Regions from separate parts of the Homo sapiens genome. Here regions 2 and 3 are each linked to region 1. Evidence: promoter capture Hi-C in human tissues and cell types (Jung and others, 2019). All regions are on one chromosome and are shown on one strand. The core of a region is centred on a gene start or on the middle of the fragment in contact, and the rest is flanking DNA. Distances in the headings are between cores, read along the strand shown.

What was found. Contacts are between HindIII fragments. The study calls those that stand out against the background at their distance.
Region 2: a fragment that was not itself captured here is called in contact with the fragment with the promoter of NAA16 in region 1 in 1 of the 25 tissues and cell types used here (lymphoblastoid cells).
Region 3: a fragment that was not itself captured here is called in contact with the fragment with the promoter of NAA16 in region 1 in 1 of the 25 tissues and cell types used here (lymphoblastoid cells).

The regions. Positions count from the first base shown.
Region 1 is chr13:41,309,938-41,312,580 of GRCh38, forward strand. NAA16 (N-alpha-acetyltransferase 16, NatA auxiliary subunit) reads left to right here and starts at 1,330. Exons shown (of 20, transcript NM_024561.5): 1 at 1,330-1,645. The coding sequence starts at 1,592. It also overlaps a transcript of MTRF1 not described here. The HindIII fragment of the contact is 7,787 bases long and covers 1-2,643 here.
Region 2 is chr13:40,961,429-40,964,071 of GRCh38, forward strand. The region is part of intron 2 of ELF1 (E74 like ETS transcription factor 1); the gene reads right to left. Among named protein-coding and RNA genes, the nearest start is that of ELF1, 57 kb to the right of the region's middle. The HindIII fragment of the contact is 6,199 bases long and covers 1-2,643 here.
Region 3 is chr13:41,023,281-41,025,923 of GRCh38, forward strand. It overlaps a transcript of ELF1 not described here. Among named protein-coding and RNA genes, the nearest start is that of ELF1, 5.3 kb to the left of the region's middle. The HindIII fragment of the contact is 4,987 bases long and covers 1-2,643 here.

The DNA of each region.
Region 1 (2,643 bases), core at 80-2,579:
GGGAGCTGAGATAGCGCCATTGCATTCCAGCCTCGGCAACAAGAACAAAACATCGTCTCAAAAAAAGGAAAATAAAAAAGGGCAGCCCAGTTCTGATTACAGCCGACTAAATGCAGTTACTCATCAATTACTTTATAGTCTCAGAAATATGCACCCATTAAGATTCAGCACATGTATAAATAAACTTATGTACCTAATGTTTACACACACCTTACTACTAACCCTACACTGAATGTATGGTTTATTCTTGCCACTGTTGTATCTTTCTAGACTCACACATTACCATCAATATGCTGCCTTTTATTTGTTGTAGAGAGTATCCCAGAGTTGGAAGATCCTGAATTTGAAGCCTGTTTCTCCCATTATTATATGGCTTTCAGGAAGGGGAACCATCTGAAGAGAAAGGGTAGGTAGACTCAGAAGACCAGTGGCCTTATAAAACCGTAATTCCGGCCAGGTGTGGTGGCTCACGCCTGTAATCCCAGCACTTTCGGAGGTTGACGCGGGGGCGGATCACGAGGTCAAGAGATCAAGACCATCCTGGCCAACATGGTGAAAGCCTGTCTCTACTAAAAATACAAAATTAGCCGGGTGTGGTGGCGCATGCCTGTAATCCCAGCCACTCGGGAGGCTGAGGCAGGAGAATCCTTTGAACTCAGGAGGCGGAGGTTGCAGTGAGCCCAGATAGCGCCACTGCACTGCAGCCTGGGCGACAAGAGCGATACTCCATCTCAAAACCAACCAACCAAACAAAAACAAAGATTGTAAATGTTTGTTTGGTTTGCCCTGGAAAGAGAAGGCTTCTACTTAGAGTCTGAATCAAGGAGGAAAAGGAAAGAAAACAAGTTCATCTTTCATCAAAAGTCTACTTTGCATCGGACACTTAAATTCCTAAATGGGGAGAAATGCAAAAAACTCTGACTCTTCAGAGTCATAACTAACATTATCTTGCGCCACAAGCTTATCAAGAGTGCAATACAAGTCAGTGTCTTCTCTTTTCTACTTAAAAGAAAATTCTCGTTTTTATTTATTACTTTATTGCAAGGAGAAGCAGACAATAAGTAGGAGTCTTATGAGGCGTTCTGATGCATAGGAGCAATGGTGAATGAGGGTGGTGACTCACCACCCCATGGGACTCCAAGGTTTTGGTGACAGCTCGCCTGAGCCCCAGGGGGTGCCGAGATTGCGGCGAGGAGAGCCGCAGCACAAGGCAAATCCACGCGGTTGGTCCCCGCTACGCCCCCGTAGTCACCCGCAGCCCCTCGCCAAAGGGCGCTCCGCGCATGCGCACAGGATCCGGCTCGGGAGGCGGACCCTGGCTGCCATCTTGCAGTGCGCGGGAACCGCCGCCGCCGCCGCTGGCCAAAAAGCGGAGCCCAGGGGAAGCGTGTCCTGCTCAGACCGCCTTCCTTCTCCATTGCCACCCGTGCCGAACAGCCAGGCTGCCCAATTGCAACTGTAGACCAATGAACTAATCCATCGCCCGCAGCCCGACTCTCAGCAGCGGTTCGTCCCGGTGCCCACCCCCGCGAAGCGGAGCGCCCGGGCACCTAGCCTCCCTGCCGGCCACCTAGCCTCCCTGCCGGCCACGATGCCGAACGTGCTGCTGCCGCCCAAGGAGAGCAACCTCTTCAAACGCATCTTGGTGAGTGGCCGTAGGCCGCGCTGCCGCCCCCCGGTCCCCGGGTCCTCGGGCCTTAAGGGCAAGCGGTCTGGCGGCGGCCGGCGCGGGCCAGGCTTGGCCTCCGCTGCCCACCGCTCTTTGTTTACCTCGGAGGTCGCGGGACCCCACTTTCCCGCTCCGGCCGGCCCACGGGGGCTGCCGAGCCGCTCCTCCGTGCGCTTCCTTTCCGCGGTCTTCTGCGGCTCGCCTCACCCCCGCCGCGCTCTTTCCAGAAACTTCACGCCGCTCTCCGCAGTGCCCGGGCACAGCCGCCTCGGCCGGTAGTGGCTGCCGTGCTCTCTGCCGCGCCGGGCTCGCAGCAGCCCCTCAGGGATCCTCCCCCGGTGGTTTATTTTGCCAGTCTCTCCTCGGCTAGGTGTTTTGCGTTCTGCATTCTCTGCTTTGCGTTTAGTTAGATTGCACAGCACACCCGCATACCTATTAAAGCGGGATCGATGCGATGGTGGAATTTTTCCTGGTTACGAGGAAATAAAACCGGCAACTTTAGGAAGCCAGGCCTGGCACCACCTCCCTTTGGGAAAAAGTTTGCCTGTTTGTAATGTACCTTATTTACCTCTTTGGAAGTGAATATTTGACTTGAAGTGCGTTTCTGAGTTGTCACCAACTTCAAAACAGCTGTTTGCTTTTTAGTCGCACAGGCCTTGCTTGAGTAATTAAAGCCGCGTGGACTGGCTGGTTTTGCATTTGAGGGGAGCATTTTTACTTTATCGCGGAGCAGAAGCCTGAATAATGGCCCCGTAGTGATGACCGCTGCGGAGCCGGGTGGGCAGTTTTCTGTGGGCTGTGTGCCAGCGTCCCTGGTAGCTTTCCAGGTTCTGTTCTTCCAAGGAGAAGAGGCAGCATTCCTTTGCTTTCCTCAGTATCCTCTGGCTACCCTAGGTTTTAAACTAATATTGTTAGTAGGTAACTGTCTTTTCTAGTTTATCTTTTCACCTGAAAAAAAGCTTTTATTTGCTAAA
Region 2 (2,643 bases), core at 106-2,605, 350 kb before region 1:
GTAGTCCCAGCTACCTGGAAGGCTGAAACAGGAGGATGGCTTGAGCCCAGGAGTTCAAGGCTGTCCTGTGCTACAATCCCATCTGTGAATACCTACTGTACTTCAGCCTGGGCAACACAGCAAAACCCTGTCACTGAAAAAAAAAGAAAGAAAAAAATTATACCGTAACTCACATAAATACACTTCACACACCTTAAAGAAAAGTGTAGCTAGCCTTCCCTTTCCCTTTTTTGACAGGTAAATTGTAGACATGCAATCCCACCTAGCATAAACATGGACTTGTTAAAACACTTTTCCTTTTCTTCTCTTCTAAAAGCTCAATTAAGCTCCTGGTCTTCTAACAAGGCTTAGTCCAGAATTAAGCACTTTTATGCTGCAAAAACCCATGTACAAGGTAGGAACAGAGCTCATCACTTCATCCACTGATAAGTCAGAGACAGGCGTGTAAAATGCAATTCACAGGAGCAGTTCTCACCCAAATGAAACCAAAGTATTCCTCCCTAACCAAATCTATTTGGCTCCTGTAGCTTGGGTAGAGAGTGCTAATGTGTACATAACAAGGGATACTTCCAAATTTTTGAGTCTATACAGTTCTTGAGTTTTGGTTAACCACAGATACTTGTTACTACTTTATTCCTTGTCCTGTTCTACTAACCAGTAGTTACTCTATTCTCCAGAATTCTCCTTTATAATCAATGTCACTTCTACCACAGTGCCCTTCCCAGAGGCAATCACTGCTACCAATTTCTTTGTTCTGTTACTGTACAGACAGTAAATGTACAGTCAGGCATACTCCAAATTGCTTTAAACAATCATAATTAAATTCAGTTTAAATTTAATAATTTTTAAACTATTTAATAAGGAAAATTTCAAACACACAAACGTCAAGAGAAAAAAACGTTTCCTTTGAAGCAAAAGGTTTATTAAGAATGAAAAGTAGTTTTGAAGTCTTTGGGATTAAAAAAAGAGAGTGGCCAGGAGTGGTGGCTCATGTCTGCAATCCCAGCACTTTGGGAGGGCAAGGTGGGTGGATCACTTGAGGTCAGGAGTTCGAGATCAGCCTGGCCAACACGGTGAAACCTTGTCTTTACTAAAAAAATACAAAAAATGAGCCAGTCATGGTGACGGGCACCTGCAATCCCAGCTACTTAGGAGGGTGAGGCAGGGGAATGGCTTGAACCTGGGAGGCGGAGGTTGCAGTGAACCAAGGTCGCACCACTGCACTCTGGCCTGAGTGAAGAAGACTGTCTCAAAAAAAAAAAAAAAAAGAAGAAGAAGAATGAAAAGAGACACATGGTTCTGTGATTTAGAAGGCAGCCACATGTAGCAGAAAAGAAAAACTGGGAACCAGGAGACCTAGGGCCTTCTCCAACCCTGATTTCATGACCTTATTTTCTGAACCTTTAAATGAATGAAGAGCACCAGTTGATCCTACAGGCCCTTCCAGGTTTTGCTTTGTTAATATTTTGAATTCATGGATTCTACTGTCTGAGCTTATAACATTTCACGAGAAGAGATTATTCACTCTTACACACTAAAATGGGAGAGTAGCATGCACTGTGGCCACATAGCTGCTGCCATTGCTATTAACCAACATTTAATATGCACGAGACATTTTGCACATTGCTTTACGTGAATTATCACTCTATTTAATCATCACAAAATGCTATGATGGAGACACACTGGACTATCCATTTTACACATGAGAAAACAGAGGCAAGGGAAATAATCTACTCCAAGTCATAAACCTAACTTGAACTGACTCCAGGGTCCATGTCCTTTACTTATACACTATTGTAGTCAGCTTTAAACATAGTAGATTTGTTCTGCTGGCATACTTACTTGGCTCTGTTTAGAAAACCAGAATAATTAAGGAGCTGTGTTTGAGGTGGAGGTATGAGTTTCACTATTATTTCCAAGGCTTCACCAATCAGAGTCTATAACAAAATTTCTCATGGGAATAGCCAGTTCTTCTTGGTCAGCAGGGCACTTCCCAGGATCACTCCTAATTTAGTCCTACAGCCTTCTCCTTCTGAGGTACTTGCTTTTATCATGAAAGGCATGGTCCATTCTTTTCTAGTCCACTGACATGGGATGTATATTCAAAGTTGTTCATCTCTCGTTTCCCCAGGATGCTATTAATCCATATATAAGAAAGAGACCAACTTCAGATTTTCATAAGAATATGAATAGTTAGGTGCTGGGCGCAGTGGCTCACGCCTGTAATCCCAGCACTTTGGGAGGCCGAGGCGGGCGGATCACGAGGTCAAGAGATTGAGAACATCCTGGCCAACATGGTAAAACCCTGCCTCTACTAAAAATACAAAAATTAGCTGGGCATGGTGGCATGAGCCTATAGTCCCAGCTACTCAGGAGGATGAGGCAGGAGAATCACTTAACCCAGGAGGCAGAGGTTGCAGTGAGCCAAGATCGCACCACTGCACTCCAACTTGGGTGACGGAGCAAGACTCCGTCTCAAAAAGAAAAAAAAAAAGAAAGACTATGAATAAGTCAGGTAAGAGGCTTGAATCTGTATATACAAAATACATTTAGGAAACACCTCTCAGGTGACTAGAAAGATTCTTCCCACTCTACTACCATAAATAGAAAAAAAATGCACACTCCTGAAACTCCAGCTGCTGA
Region 3 (2,643 bases), core at 91-2,590, 290 kb before region 1:
TAGTACAAAAATACAGAATACTCTAATTTCCATATCTAGGAAACTTAGGCTAAAAAAAGCTTTGTTTGAATCCGCCCCATAGGTCGGGAGCTAACATGCTATGACTATCAGAGATGGAAAAAGAAAAGATCACACCATTAAAATGGCAAATGACCAAAATCAATGTTCCCCACTATTTAAATAGAAAAATAAAATTCAGAAGACTGAGATTGAGTGTTATGAATCTTTCAATCATGCAGAATTTATTTTGTTGATGTTAATGCCTCTCAAAAATATAATCCCAGGTTCCAAGAATTGTGTAGAATTTCTACATGTGAGCTTAAACGTAAAACACAGTTAATTTTCTATGCTCTATCACTAGCTTTGTTAAACCAAATCCTCTTTCCCACTTCTGCACGGACAGGTAACTAGGTGGTACTTTTTACCACCCACAAAAAGCAGGCCTCTTAGGCAACAGTCTATGTATTTTCAGGGGCTTATCAAAGGCAAAAGGGGCCATGGCTTTTGTCTGCACTATATTCCCATCACCTAGGACAAGGCCCAAAACTCAGCAGAAATTCAGAGACATGAATGAGTGACTTTCCTAAAACTGCTCACTGAGGGGAAAAATGTAGCATATCAGGATTTTCGTAAACATTGAAATATCTTTAAAGACATGACTTGGCCCCTATGACTTGATATAGACAAATTCAAGGTTCTATTGCAGGTATTATTCTGGGTATTACTGTTTCCTCTGATATTAAAAATAACCAAGAATTGATGGTATGATTATATTCTTTATAAAGCTCCCAGGTAATATGCTGACTGCAATCTCAAGTTGTTTGTATAGACATATTTTATCTCTCATAATTAAATTTTAAATTCAATATTAAAAATAATGTATCTTTTACTTCAGTAGCCTGTAACCAGGAATGTACCCCTGAAGGAGCTTTATGAAGACACATGCCAACTCCTGGAAATGGATTCAGTAGTGCAGGTGGAGGTCAGGCTTATGAGAACCACTGCTGTTTTTGTTTGTTTGTTTGTTTGTTTTGGGGGGGGTGGCTGTTTTTGTTTTTTGAGACAGAGTTTTGCTCTGTCACCCAGGCTGGAGTGCAGTGGCAGGACCTTGGCACCTCAGCGTAAAGCAATTTCTGCCTCCCAGGCGATCCTCCCACCTCAGCCTCCTGAGTAGCTGGGACTACAGGCATGCACCACAATGTGGTTATTTTTTGTATTTTTTTGTATTTCTGGCTAATTTTGTATTTTGTATGTCTGGCTAATTTTTGTATTTTTTTGTAGAGGCAGGGTTTTGCCATGTTGCCAAGGCTGGTCTCAAACTCCTGAGCTCAAGCGATCCGCCTGCCTCGGCCTCCCAATGTGCTTGGATTACAGGCATGAACAACCACACATGGCCACCATTGCTGTGTTTCTATGTAGCCCTAGCATCTACTGTAGTTACTGCTCTTCACACAGCAGCCACTCAAAGACATTTGTTAACCTACTATTCAATAATCTCTAAATGTTGCAGAGAGGAAATCTAATTTTTATACTGAGTTTAAAGTGAAACTTAAGCTCCTCCTTTGCTACTCTTCAGGTAAAAAAGTACTCATCATATCACAGGAAAAGTAACATCACAGTCTCCTCCTAACTGACAGAATCTTTCTCTACCACCAACTGCCTACTTTAAATTCACCCATCACTCTGCTATTAGAGAAGTCTTCCTAAAGAACAACTCTGAGAGTGAAATGATTATCACTTATGGCCCAAAAAACAAAAAGAAATAAAATAACTGATTTCTTAGAGGCAAAATTAAAAGCCAGACTATTATGGCGTTCAAGGCTTTCACAATCTGACTTTAATTTCCCTAACTTTTCCAGCCCTATCTTCCTGACTCTCCCTCACTCCCTAGCCCCTGACAGCTGTACGGAAATTTCCTGAATTGCTCCATTCCTATTTGTCTCACTTCCTTATCACTGTTCCCTGGGCCTGAAAAGCACTTACCTTATTTCCTATCCTATGCCCGACCTCTGCCTATGAACATCCATCCATCAAGTCTCAATTTCAATGCCTCCTCTACAGAAGGATCTCCTCAACAGCCCCACTTACAATTACTGTGAGAACTGGTTATCGCAGAACTGAAAGAGACCTTAGAGACACTTTATCCAGTCCAGTGGTTTCTAAACTTTTTACTTAAGCAGCTGAATTTTTATAAAGGCTTCAAGGAACCTTGACACTCCATACATTTAAGTCTTCACTGTAGGACAGCTTAAAACACGAATCCAATCCAGTCTCATTTTAAAAATAGAGATAAGAGGTCTGTACAAAGTGACTTCCCAATGTCAAGTTAGTGACTGATTTGAGGGACTCTTTGTCATTCATTTAACAAATATTTACTCAGCACTTACTATGTGCCAGGTACTGTTCTAGCCCCTTGCTAGACAGCAAACAAAAGAGACATACTGCTGATAAATAAACCCTATTCGGCCTGTGCAGAAGACAGATGAATCTAGGAGAATCACGGTGGATTATCATAAGCTTAACCAAGTGGTGACTCCGATTGCAGCTGCTGTACCAGATGTGAGCTCATTCTTTACCCTCAACAGATCTCCTGGTATCTGTTACATACAGCTATCAATCTGGCAAATGCCTTTTTCCCCCATA